4 separate regions of the Homo sapiens genome follow, and regions 1, 2 and 4 are each linked to region 3. Evidence: promoter capture Hi-C in human tissues and cell types (Jung and others, 2019). All regions are on one chromosome and are shown on one strand. Each heading gives the region's core, a stretch centred on a gene start or on the middle of the fragment in contact. The rest is flanking DNA. Distances are from core to core; before and after follow the strand shown. Region 1 has its middle 44 kb from the start of GSX1. Region 2 holds the start of LOC124903139 (a long non-coding RNA gene). Region 3 holds the start of GSX1 (GS homeobox 1). Region 4 has its middle 62 kb from the start of GSX1.

Region 1 (2,999 bases), core at 138-2,637, 44 kb after region 3:
TAATACCCAAGACAGTTGCAAAGTGTTTCATACGGTGCCTGGCATACTGTAGGGTGTCAGTATGCCAGGCAGCCTGTCACAATTTTGGCTTTATTATTTAATACACTATTGCTTCATATGATCAAAACTGGGGCAAAGCTGATTTTCCTCTTCAAGGACATGGTAAGAGATGGCTCTCACTGATCTGCTATGGGGAGAGTGACTGCTTCACAGCCAGCCTGCACTGCCAGGTGATCATCTGCCCCAGGTTTTCATAGTAAGGGGAGGGCAGGATGTAGCTGACTTGTGGCCTGGCCAGCTGGGTTCTTGGGACAACTCGGCTTGCAGGGAAGGTCAGAAAAGCCAAGGCCCAGCTTTGAGGGTAACTCCGAAGCCTCAGCTCAGACCATGTCTTCAGTGGGGTGCAGCAACACTCCATGGAAATGGAGAAAGGCATTGAAGGGCATTTATTCTTTCTTCTACTCATTTCACCTTCCGCTTTCTGGCTGCACAGACATAATTGTCAGGCAGCACAAACAGCCTGTGGCAAGCAACATCAAATAATTATAGTCAGAGGGTTGCTGAGTGTCCTGTGTGTAGCTCCCATGGTCTGTGGTTTGATTTATGTGAGGGGCATGATCTTTGGATTGGAAATGGGAAATGTGTGGCACGTGGTGTGCTGTGGAGACAGTACAGCATATTGGGAAGAGCATGGGCTCTGGGGTCAGTTAGACCTTCTTCTAACCCCAGTTCTGTGGTCTCAAGCAACACAGTTGTTCTCCAAGCTTCAGTTTCCTGGTCACTGAAATGGGGCTGTCTATATAAGACTAGCTGGGTTGTTATTGAGAGGTGACAGCGTGCTGGCAGTCCTCACAGCCCTCGCTCGCTCTCGGCGCCTCCTCTGCGTGGGCTCCCACTTTGGCGGCACTTGAGGAGCCCTCCAGCCCACCGCTGCGCTGTGGGAGCCCCTTTCTGGGCTGGCCAAGGCCGGAGCCCACTCCCTCAGCTTGCAGGGAGGTGTGGAGGGAGAGGCGCCAGCGGGAACCAGGGCTGTGTGCGGCGCTTGCGGGCCAGCTGGAGTTCCGGGTGGGCATGGGCTTGGCGGGCCCCGCACTCAGAGCAGCCGGCCAGCCCTGCTGGCCCCGGGCAATGAGGGACTTAGCACCCGGGCCAGCAGCTGTGGAGGGGGTACTGGGTCCCCCAGCAGTGCCAGCCCACGGGCGCTGCACTCGATTTCTCACCGGGCCTTAGCTGCCTTCCCGCGGGGCAGGGCTCTGGACCTGCAGCCCGCCATGCCTGAGCCTCCCACCCGCTCCATGGGCTCTTGTGCGGCCCGAGCCTCCCCGACGAGCGCCACCCCCTGCTCCACGGTGCCCAGTCCCATCGACCACCCAAGGGCTGAGGATTGCGGGTGCACAGCCCTGGGACTGGCAGGCAGCTCCACCTGCAGCCCCGGCGCGGGATCCAATGGGTGAAGCCAGCCGGGCTCCTGAGTCTGGTGGGGACGTGGAGAGTCTTTATGTCTAGCTCAGGGATTGTAAATACACCAATCAGCACTCTGTATCTAACTTAAGGTTTGTAAACACACCAATCAGCACCCTGTGTCTAGCTCAGGGTTTGTGAGTGCACCAATCGACACTCTGTATCTAGCTGCTCTGGTGGGGCCTTGGAGAACCTTTATGTCTAGCTCAGGGATTGTAAATACACCAATCAGCACTCTGTATCTAGCTCAAAGTTTGTAAACACACCAATCAGCACCCTGTGTTTAGCTCAAGGTTTGTGAGTGCACCAATGGACACTCTGTATCTAGCTGCTCTGGTGGGGCCTTGGAGAACCTTTATGTCTAGCTCAGGGATTGTAAACACACCAGTCAGCATCCTGTGTCTAGCTCAGGGTTTGTGAGTGCACCAATCGACGCTCTGTATTTAGCTGCTCTGGTGGGGCCTTGGAGAACCTTTGTGTGGATACTCTGTATCTAACTAATCTGATGGGGACGTGGAGAACCTTTGTGTCTAGCTCAGGGATTGTAAACGCACCAATCAGCACCCTGTCAAAACAGACCACTAGGCTCTACCAGTCAGCAGGATGTGGGTGGGGCCAGATAAGAGAATAAAAGCAGGCTGCCTGAACCAGCAGTGGCAACACACTCGGGTCTCCTTCCATACTGTGGAAGCTTTGTTCTTTCGCTCTCTGCAATAAATCTTGCTATTGCTCACTCTTTGGGTCCACACTGCTTTTATGAGCTGTAACACTCACCGCGAAGGTCTGCATCTTCACTCCTCAAGCACAGGGAGACCATGAGCCCGCCGGGAGGAAGGAACAACTCCAGACGCGCTGCCTTAAGAGCTGTAACACTCATGGCGAAGGTCTTTAGCTTCACTCCTGAGCCAGCGAGACCACGAACTCACCAAAGGAAGAAACTCCAAACACATCTGAACATCAGAAGGAAACAAACTCCAGATGCGCCACCTTAAGAGCTGTAACACTCACCGCGAGGGTCCGCAGCTTCATTCTTGAAGTCAGTGAGACCAAGAACCCACCAATTTTGGACACATTATGACAAATGAGGGAGATGGCTCATTGTAAGATGGCACCATTATAACATGGTACCTTTAATGTTATAGGTACTGGCTAGTTTCTTTCTGGAAGGCGGCATCCACTCAGACAAACAGCCAGGCAAGCTCACTTGGATTACCTACCCCTATCATAATTTTTGCAATCACACATCAGACACAGGGTTAACCCTTAGACCAAGAGTCCTGCATTGCAGGCCATGAGAAGATGGCCTGGATACCTTGGGCTAGCCCTCTTCTCTTACCAAGATCACACCCTGTGCTCTTTTTTGCTCCTGTAGAGTTATAAGCCTTCTGGGATGTGCTGTTCATTTGTAGCTAAGCACGCTGAGCAAGCTGACGATCCTCCACACTGTGCCTATGGATGGTCGGTCACTCTCAGCCTTTGATGCGCCCACCCCTTCCTGTTGGCCAACCAAAGAGAAAACAAAATCTTTTTATCAACAG
Region 2 (3,047 bases), core at 170-2,669, 37 kb before region 3:
AAGTTTCCCTTGTGCCCCAGACTGGAAATCAGCCCCACTGCATTCAAAGGTGCTGTGACTTTGGACAAGTTCCTTCTCCTCTTTGGGCCTCCTTTTTAATCTAATAATAAAAAGGCGGTTTAATTTCAAAAGTTTCTTCCAGCTCTAACGCTCCTTGATTGAATGACTCCCAATCCCGGCGGAGGTTCTTTAAAAAACGGCCTACTGGGATTTACATGTGGGTAAATGGTCTCTTCAGCCCGTTTTCTTTGATCTAAGTTAGTGCATTGCACCAGTGTTGTGTCAAATCATCCTGGGAAAAAGTAGCTTTTCCCAGAAAGACAAATTTTAACCAAAGTAGCTTTTCCCAGAAAGACAAAATTTAACCTAAGACATTAAAAAAACCAACCAAACAAACAAAAAGCACTACACACTGAACGGACTCCACAAGCCAAGCAGAAAAACAAAAAACAACGAACCACATCCCCCTTCCCACCCTTACCCCAGACTCTTAGCTTCTTTCTGAATATCGCATGTCACCTGTACACCTGAATAGTCATAGTAGCTGGCATTTATTTTTACGGATGTCCATAGAGTCACTTATAGCATTTTCTCCCACAGAAGCACAGCGAAATCACAGCCGAGCAGAGGAGGGCAAGGGAGAGGGCCGCCCCAGTCTGAGAGCTGCAGGGTCTGGCTGGAACTGCTCCCGGCCAGCGGACTTCACCCGGGCGCGGGGGCCGCACCTGCCGGGCGCGGCCTGCTCTATGGCGCCCTCTGCTGTTAGTCCGCCCCAGGCTCCGCGCCGGCCTCTCCTGGGTCCGTGGGGCCTGCGGGCTGCGGGGATCACCGAGACCCACATTCCCGTGGCCAGCAGCCTTTCGCTCTGCTCAGAGGAGAGGCAGAAGGGCATATTGCTGTTTCCCAGTCGCTTTTTACACCTGCCTTCTTCGGATAAACCCAAAAATCTTCCTTCAGAGAAGACGGCCCGTATTTCCCGTTATTTGGGGGTGGAGGTGGGGCTAAGGGCGTCATAGGGAGAGCCTTACTTTCAACATTCTGCATTATGAAACCAAGGGAGACTTTTTTTCCCAACAAGTGTGAACATTTTTTTTCAAGAGAATTAAATCGTTTATTGATTACACATGATAATGGATGACACACAAGCTTCATTCCCATCTCTAATTTTATCTGGTACCGTTATTCAATTTAGATATATTGCATAGGATGTGCCAACAATCACTTTTATCACCAATAATTCCACGATTTTGCTTGAGTAATCCCTTTTAATGGTGAACTTCAGGTCACAACAGTAACTATCAGTTCAACTACACCAAGGTTTCTGAAGACAATGGCTTCTCCGCCCAAGCAGGTTGCATATAAATTCCAAATAGAACCTGGCATCACCCTGAAGGAATTCTAACTTCACACTGTTGGGAAAATTTACCGAGATGGCTTCAGAGTAGACTAACTTTACACAGCACATTTTTTAAAAAAGACATTTATTCAGCGTCACGATCAGACTATTACATTTAGCAATCAACAGCATGGGTGAAAAAAAAATCTACATTAAAACCCTTTGTTGGAATGCTTTACACTTTCCACAGAACAGAAACTAAAATAACCTCTTATACAATTAGTCACAAATACAGTCCTCAAGTTTTTTGCCCATACACGAGTATTTGTCTAAAACATGACTTGTTTGTAGCAGCTAGGCCTTGCCACCACTGTGCTTGGCTGAGTTCACAAACCTCTTGTAACCTGTAGCTTCCTTGTCACTTCTCTGGCTCTCCCTTCCTGCTAAGCTTTGTTTACTAATTAAAATCTTCTGCCAAAGCCATAGCTGCTGCTGCTACTGGATCCACCATAGCCACCTTGGTTTCGTGGTTTGGCAAAGTATTGGCCTCCACCACCACAGGGGCCAGAGCTTCTGCCTCCAAAATTTCCTCCCTTCATGGGTCCAAAATTTGAAGACTGATTATTGTAATTGCCAAAATCATTGTAGCTTCCACTACCTCCAAAATTGCTTCCACTAAAAAATATGGAACGCTTCACGAATTTGCATGTCATCCTTGCACAGGGGCCATGCTAATCTTCTCTGTATTGTTTCAGTTTTAGTATATGTGCTGCCAAAGCTAGCACAAGTGTGAACATTGACTATGCTTCTCACATATCTTTACAGCCCCACTCTAAGGGGACTCTGTCTTGGAGAACCAACTGTTCTAGAATTTTCTAACCTGCCTCCTGCAGCCCCTCTCCCCATTTCTTCTCCTAGGGAGTCTTCCAGATGGTGCAGTTCACCTAGGAACTGCATGTCTGCTTGCTGAGGGTGTGGCAGGAGTCAAGTCACTAAACCTTTATGAGTGAATACTGTCAACCTTATACAGCCCATTCATTTCTTCACCAATTCCATCCATGTCAACTCAACAACTACTCCAGCTGACCCTGGAGCTTGGTACTGGGGATACATCTCATACAAAAGGATGCTTTCCTTCCTGTCCCAAAATGTATCAGCCCCCGAGGGATCATACACAATAGATACACAAATGGTTGCATGTAAATGCAAAGAACATGTTGCAATGAGAAAGAATAATATAGGTTGTGAGCTCACAGGAGGAACATTAAAGCTGAGCCTGCAGGATAAATAAGAATAAACCAGTGAAAAACGCTGAACCATGACTCTGAGATGGGAAGGTGGCATAAATTCCAGGAGAGGCATGTGGCTGGATCATCAGGAATGGGGAGAGCAGAAACCCCAAAGAAGGTTGGAGAATTAGGCAGAGGGCGGATTAGGTGAACCCTGGAGGGCCAAGCTAATAATTTTGAGTCAAATTACAGAGTGCAGTGGAGAGCCCCTGAATTTATTTTTAGTAATTGACATGATCTGAGGTGGGGTTTGCAAGGATCCTTCTGGCTGGTGTGACAGGAGGGAGGCAGGGTGAGGGTAGGAGCCTTGGAGCTGAAGATAGATGGGAAATTGGTTCCTGGTGGTAGCAGTCCAAGTGGCAGGAAGTCGCCAGCCGCAGAGCATGCTTTGAAGGCAGAGTGGAGGACAGGCTGGCATGTTG
Region 3 (2,796 bases), core at 238-2,737:
GCGACCTAGGGAGACACGCGCCTAGGGAGTGACCGTAAGATCCCGGTCGTCCTTCCCTGAGGAGGACGGAGACATGGGCAATTCGTCGTCATCCTCGGAGCACTTGGCTGAGGAGAGCGATGCGCACTTGCAGCCTTGCGGTGCGCTCCCGCCACCACCGGCACCCCCGCCGCCGCCGCCACGATGGTTGCTGCCCTTGCCCTCCTTCTTGTGCTTCACTCGGCGGTTCTGAAACCAGATCTTCACCTGCTTCTCGGACAGATTCAGGTAGGTCGCGATCTCGATGCGACGTAGGCGGGACAGGTACATATTAGAAGCGAACTCGCGCTCCAGCTCTAGCAGCTGCGTGCTGGTGAAAGCCGTGCGCATCCTCTTGCTGCTGGGCAGCTGGTTAGAGCTGCTGTCTGGAGGTGGCAGAGCAGAGAAGGAAGCGATCAGACCTCTGTGCTGTGGACCCAATCCCTTGGTAGGCGGTCGCCAGAATCCTACGACTTTGACCTCTTACCCATCTCTTCGCCCCAACACAATCCACAGCAGAGCTACAGTGAGCGCTCCTTGTCCAGCTCCGAGATCCTGATTCTCCCGGAGTCATGCAGCCCTGGAACCCCTTCCCCTTCATGGAGAGCCTTGGATCCCAGCCCTCACTTACCCCGGCCCACACTCCAGGACCTGGACGTCTGCCCTCATCCGCCTCCTGGCGTTGTGTCCCGGCCCTCTATCCTCACTCCACCCCAAGCGCCCCCCTTAGTCCCCGACATGACCCTCACCGCCCCCAGAAAGCCCAGGGTCCCTCTTCCTCCATCTCTGGCTCTCCATCCTGCTTCGGATCACCTCTGCCCGGTCCCTCTGCGCGGCGGCCCCGCTTACCCACAGAGATGCAGTGGAACTGCCTGGGGTCAGGCAGCGGGTAGGAGGTCTGGTAGAGCGCGGCGGCAGCAGCAGCGGCGGCCGGGCCGTGAGCGACCCCGGGCGACACAGCAGAGTGCTGGCGGCCCAGGGGCGCGTGGCAGTACTGCGAGCCGAAGGGTGGGAAGGAAGCCTTGAGTAGAGGCAGCGCGGGCGGCCCGGGGGGCCCATGCAGCTGCGAGGCGGTGACGCAGAGCGGGCACACGCACAGCAGCCCAGCCTTGCGCGCGTGGCAGGCGCCAGGCGAGAGACCGTGCAGCGCGTGCGGCGGGGGCACAGCGTAGGGGAAGAGCGGCGGCGGGCTGCCCTCGGGCGCCTTCTTCTCGCCCGCCTCGCGCAGCACTAGCGAGTCCACCAGGAAGGAGCGCGGCATGGCCCCGGCGCGCGGTCGCCCCGCAGCCAGCCCGCCCTCTGCGCCCACCGCACCTTTCGGCTCTCCACGCGCTTTCCCTGGCCGCGGTATCCCGCAGCTGCCTCTGCCCAGGAGGCTGAACGCGCGGCTGAGACCTAGGCTGAAACAGTAGCCTCTGCTGCCGTGGGCACCGCCCAAAGAGCGCGGGGTGCTGGCCAGCGCTAGTGGTGCTGAAAGGCGCCGGCGGCGCGGCTTAAATAGGACTATTGCCATGTGATGGACTACGCCAGGAGCGGCCGGGGCCTCTCAATAGGGTTTTTGTGCCTTTTCTCTTGGCATTCACTCTGCACGCTTCCTCATTATTTCACTTGTTAACTAAATGAACTGCATAATGTACTCTATTCTTGTCAACCCCACCCACGCCGTAACAGGCGCCCTCGCCCCCTCCTCTCCCTTTTGCGGGTTTATTTTCTCATTCTCCCGCGATTTAATATTCTTTCCTTTCTCTTTATTTCTTACTCCCCTTTGGCTTTGCATTGGCCATCAGCCCGTTCACCTTACTGATTTTGCACCCCCGCGGCCTCTCTTCTACAGATCCCCATGGGCGCACACCCTCATATCCTCTGTCCACTTGGTCCTGGTCCCCTTCTTTCTATTATCGCCCTTACACCCCAAAAGTATGCTGTCTCCAGTCAGCCCTGTCAGCTCAGTGCCGTGCACCCCCGAACCTCCCTCCAGCCGGTCTCAGATTTTCCACCTGTGGAATCGCTTCTCTCTCTGCGTCGGAAGAAGGAGGACCGGGTTCCCGCGTGAAGGAGGCGTCTGTGGGGAGGGAGGAGAAGGGCTCATTATTCCTTATCCAGCCCTAGACCCATCGCTGTCCCTCGGTTTTCTCTAAGTTTCTCAAATAGTCTTAATTTTGGTGCTGCCTACGACGCCCAGTCTTTGTTCGGTAGATGCTGGCCAACCAGCCCTTTCCTTCAAATGACAGGGCCGTGGATGTAAAAGAGGAAAAACAGTCTCTGAGCGTTACGAACAGAGACAGGGAATGGGGAATGAAAGCCGAGATGGCGCAGATCTAGATCTCGCACCCCAGCACATGTGGCGAGTGCGGACTGTCTGCCCGCGCATCTTGCCCACACCCTGTCTACTGGAGCACACTTCCAGCAGTGCGCTGGGAAACCGCTGCCATCTCTTAGTTTGGAACGGCGCGAAGGGCGGTTGTATTCCTGGCATCGGCTGCCTTTGCCCACCCTGACCCGCCTCCGCTCTCCCCAAGACCCGGCTTCTTCTTCCTGCCGCGTCACTCTTCTTTCTGGTCACACAATGGTTAAACAACTTCAAACGCTCAGAGCTGTGTACACAGCTCCAGCTTTTTAAATCGTTCTCGGGCTCAAAGCTGTTTCGCCCAGGAGCTTTTTCCATACAATGGGAAATCAGCATAAACATTTCTAATTTACAGCCCGGGACTTTTCACAGGAGACGTTTACTTTCGATTTTATTGGAACCAAATCGCTGCAGTCACCTGCTCTGAGCCC
Region 4 (2,866 bases), core at 157-2,656, 62 kb after region 3:
CAACAATTAGAAATGAACTTTCCTGGCAGAGAGATATTTATTCATGACTTTCAAGAACTCTGTCCCTGGAGTTTTTAGAGTTCTACACATATATTTGCTCGATGGGCTTTCTGCATCTTCTCAGTTCAATATAGAGTCACAAAGTGTTCACTGGATTCTGCCTTTCTCGGGCACTTCATATCTACTGGGTTCAGGCTCCTCAACCACATCTCGCTAGGCCTGGCATCTCCCCGACTGGCTGATGGTGTTGATAGAATTATTTTTAAAAAGTCATCAGAACTGTGGTATCTAGTAAGTGTTAAGTGGTATCAATAGTTTGATTTTTGCTCCTTCTGCATTGAAGTGGATGGATGGTTTTCCTATTCTTTTTTTTAGGCAGAGTCTCACTCTGTTGCCCAGGCTAGAGTGCAATGGCACGATCTCGGCTCACTGCAACCTCTGCCTCCCGGGTTCAAGCAATTCTCCTGCCTCAGCCTCCCAAGTAGCTGGGATTACAGGTGCCCACTACCATGCCCAGCTAATTTTTGTATTTTTTTAGTAGAGACAGAGTTTCACCATGTTTCCCAGGCTGGTCTCGCACTCCTGGCCTCAAGAGATCCACCTGCCTCGGCCTCTCAAAGTGCTGGCAGTTTTCCATTTCTTTTTAACTGGACAAAATGGAAATGGGAGAATGCTTAAGAGTAAAAGTGAGAGAGAGGAACAGCAGGCTGAAGTTGTCTTCTGGTTGAAGGGCACTTTTTTGGGTTTTTATTGATAATTTCTCCTCCTTACTTGCCCCCACACTTCACACACTTTAAATGAGAACTGTTTGTGACTACTTTTGCCATAAAAACACTCATGAGAAAAAGACAGGGCTTTGAAATGCCGCCATTCCTCAATGTGTCCAGAAGAAAACTTAAGCTCACCTCAAGTCCAAAGGTGCATACTGACTGAAAAAACGACAATTCACGATCAGGAAGTTCTGAGCAAGGACAGAGAGCCCAGCTTAGGGCAACAGGACCAGCCTCAGCTGTAGCTTTGTCAAGCTGCTGAAGAAGGTGAGCAAAACCACTTCCTTGGGAAGAAAATCAAATTCAAGATAACAGACTTCCTTCAACTTTAGCGTTGTTTCATCCTTGCATAAAATTAAGAACAAACCCAAACTTTTCTCCAAAAATACGATGTAAGCAAAAATGCTGTGGGGCAGCAAGCCAGACTTCAAACAGCCCTAAAACGTCCTTTGCCTACACACCAGATAGTTCAAGGAAGCCGAAAAGTGCCCACGGGAAGATTTTGTATGGGAACTTTAACTTCCCATTCCGTTTGACTTTTGGTCTTTAAAATACAGGTCAAATCAATGAATTTAATGGAGGCCGGTTAACACAATGGCTTTGCCTTGCATTTTGACCCACATAAAGGGGAGGCAGTCCGGGGCACAAAGCTTCAGCAGAACTTTAAGTGGTTAGTACACAAACGTGACAGAACGTTTAGAATCTCAGGGACTTGCGAGACCTATTGACAAGCAGTTAAAAGTATTTGAAATAGCTGCATGAATGAACTTTGATAAGGTAGCACTATTGTCTTCCATTGTCTCTTTCTCTTCATACGAAAACTCCCCCAAAAGAACAAGAGTCAATGAATGTGAAATGTAGTGTCAGTTTTACTGGACTCTGGACGCCTTTGAGCACTGCGACTTTTTGTGGCGAGTTCATGCTACTTAAAAGTATTCTTCCCTCTGAGTTTCAACTCTTGCAAATGGTGACTTCTTAGTTCACTGCCCACCCAAGTCTTTTCCAACTGCTTTCACACCGTGAATAGCTCTTTAAGTTAAAAGCAGTGAAGATTAATTTCAGTATTTTTGCTTCTTCTTGACACTTGGGTTTTTCAAGACAGATGCCTGGTCACTCGGCCCTAAGCTCAGTGGAGGGGGTGAGGGGTGGAACAGAGCGGGAAGGAGGCCTGTCCTTCTGCAACCTAAAGATGCCAAGAGCATGGGCAGGCAGCTCCATTCCAGAAATCTGCTGAATCACCTTCCGACTTGGGAGAGAGGAGGAAACAAACAAAATCTGACTAAGTAACACATTTTAAAGAAATGTGGGGGCAAGAGAATAGGGTGGGGGAAGGGGTGTCAGCCCCAAATAACTCCTTATGAATTGCTGCGAGCCAGTGTCTCCATTCCAGGAAAGGCCTGTCTCCAAGGGTCATCTCTACCTGTCTTTACATATATTTTTTTCATCAGCAAACATCCATTTTTCCAAGCTGTGTCTAAAATATGAGTTCCCGGGGAGGCTCCTCCATTGTTTGAAAACATCCTCTCCCGTCCGTAAGTTGCGAGGAAACAGTGGTGGGACACAGAAAGTCCACAAAGGCCCTGTCTAAAGAGCCATGTGTTGGTTTCACAGGGTTTCATAGTTCTAAGATTTGCTAAATATGCTTTGGGGGGTTTTCTCAGTAAATCTCTATAGATAGATTTTATTGTATTTTACCCTTTTGTCTGTTTTTTGTGTGTGTGTCTGAAATTTCTCCCTTATTCATTGACCAGTAACTTTCTGTCACCCATCTTTGACTTTTCTCCTTACATCTGCATTTAAGCTGTCATTTACTTCTGCCATTCCCTCCTCTCAATATCTGACAGCCAAAGCCTCCATGCGCTTTTATCCCTTTGTGTTTGCATTATGACATAACCTGTGCAAAGTGGCCCAGCTCCCCAATTCTTGTATGTAAAATTTGCAACATTTTTTGAGACGGGTCAGTGCCCATTTTTGGGATCCTTTTCTTTATCTGAGTACCGTGTTAAAACTTTTTGCAGATGTGGCCTATTCAGGAGCAGGCTGCGGCTGCATGCAGAGATGGGGAAAAGAAGAAAAGGCCTTCCTATTTTGTGATT

What was found. Contacts are between HindIII fragments. The study calls those that stand out against the background at their distance.
Region 1: a contact is called between a fragment that was not itself captured here and the fragment with the promoter of GSX1 in region 3, in 2 of the 25 tissues and cell types used here (pancreas and small bowel).
Region 2: a fragment that was not itself captured here is called in contact with the fragment with the promoter of GSX1 in region 3 in 4 of the 25 tissues and cell types used here (H1 embryonic stem cells, hippocampus, mesendoderm cells and 1 more).
Region 4: a contact is called between a fragment that was not itself captured here and the fragment with the promoter of GSX1 in region 3, in 5 of the 25 tissues and cell types used here (H1 embryonic stem cells, heart left ventricle, liver and 2 more).

What each region holds. Positions count from the first base shown.
Region 1 is chr13:27,746,703-27,749,701 of GRCh38, reverse strand. No RefSeq gene overlaps it. Among named protein-coding and RNA genes, the nearest start is that of GSX1, 44 kb to the left of the region's middle. The HindIII fragment of the contact is 3,578 bases long and covers 1-2,999 here.
Region 2 is chr13:27,827,837-27,830,883 of GRCh38, reverse strand. All of the region lies in intron 3 of PLUT (PDX1 associated lncRNA, upregulator of transcription), which reads left to right. LOC124903139 (a long non-coding RNA gene) reads right to left here and starts at 674. Exons shown (of 2, transcript XR_007063734.1): 1 at 482-674. It also overlaps the pseudogene RNU6-73P. The HindIII fragment of the contact is 3,272 bases long and covers 1-3,047 here.
Region 3 is chr13:27,791,174-27,793,969 of GRCh38, reverse strand. It overlaps GSX1 (GS homeobox 1), which reads right to left and starts at 1,487. Exons shown (of 2, transcript NM_145657.3): 1 at 868-1,487; 2 at 1-404. The coding sequence starts at 1,279. The coding sequence ends at 22. RefSeq lists an enhancer at 757-1,560. The HindIII fragment of the contact is 15,189 bases long and covers 1-2,796 here.
Region 4 is chr13:27,728,556-27,731,421 of GRCh38, reverse strand. No RefSeq gene overlaps it. Among named protein-coding and RNA genes, the nearest start is that of GSX1, 62 kb to the left of the region's middle. RefSeq lists an enhancer at 1,647-2,846. The HindIII fragment of the contact is 6,909 bases long and covers 1-2,866 here.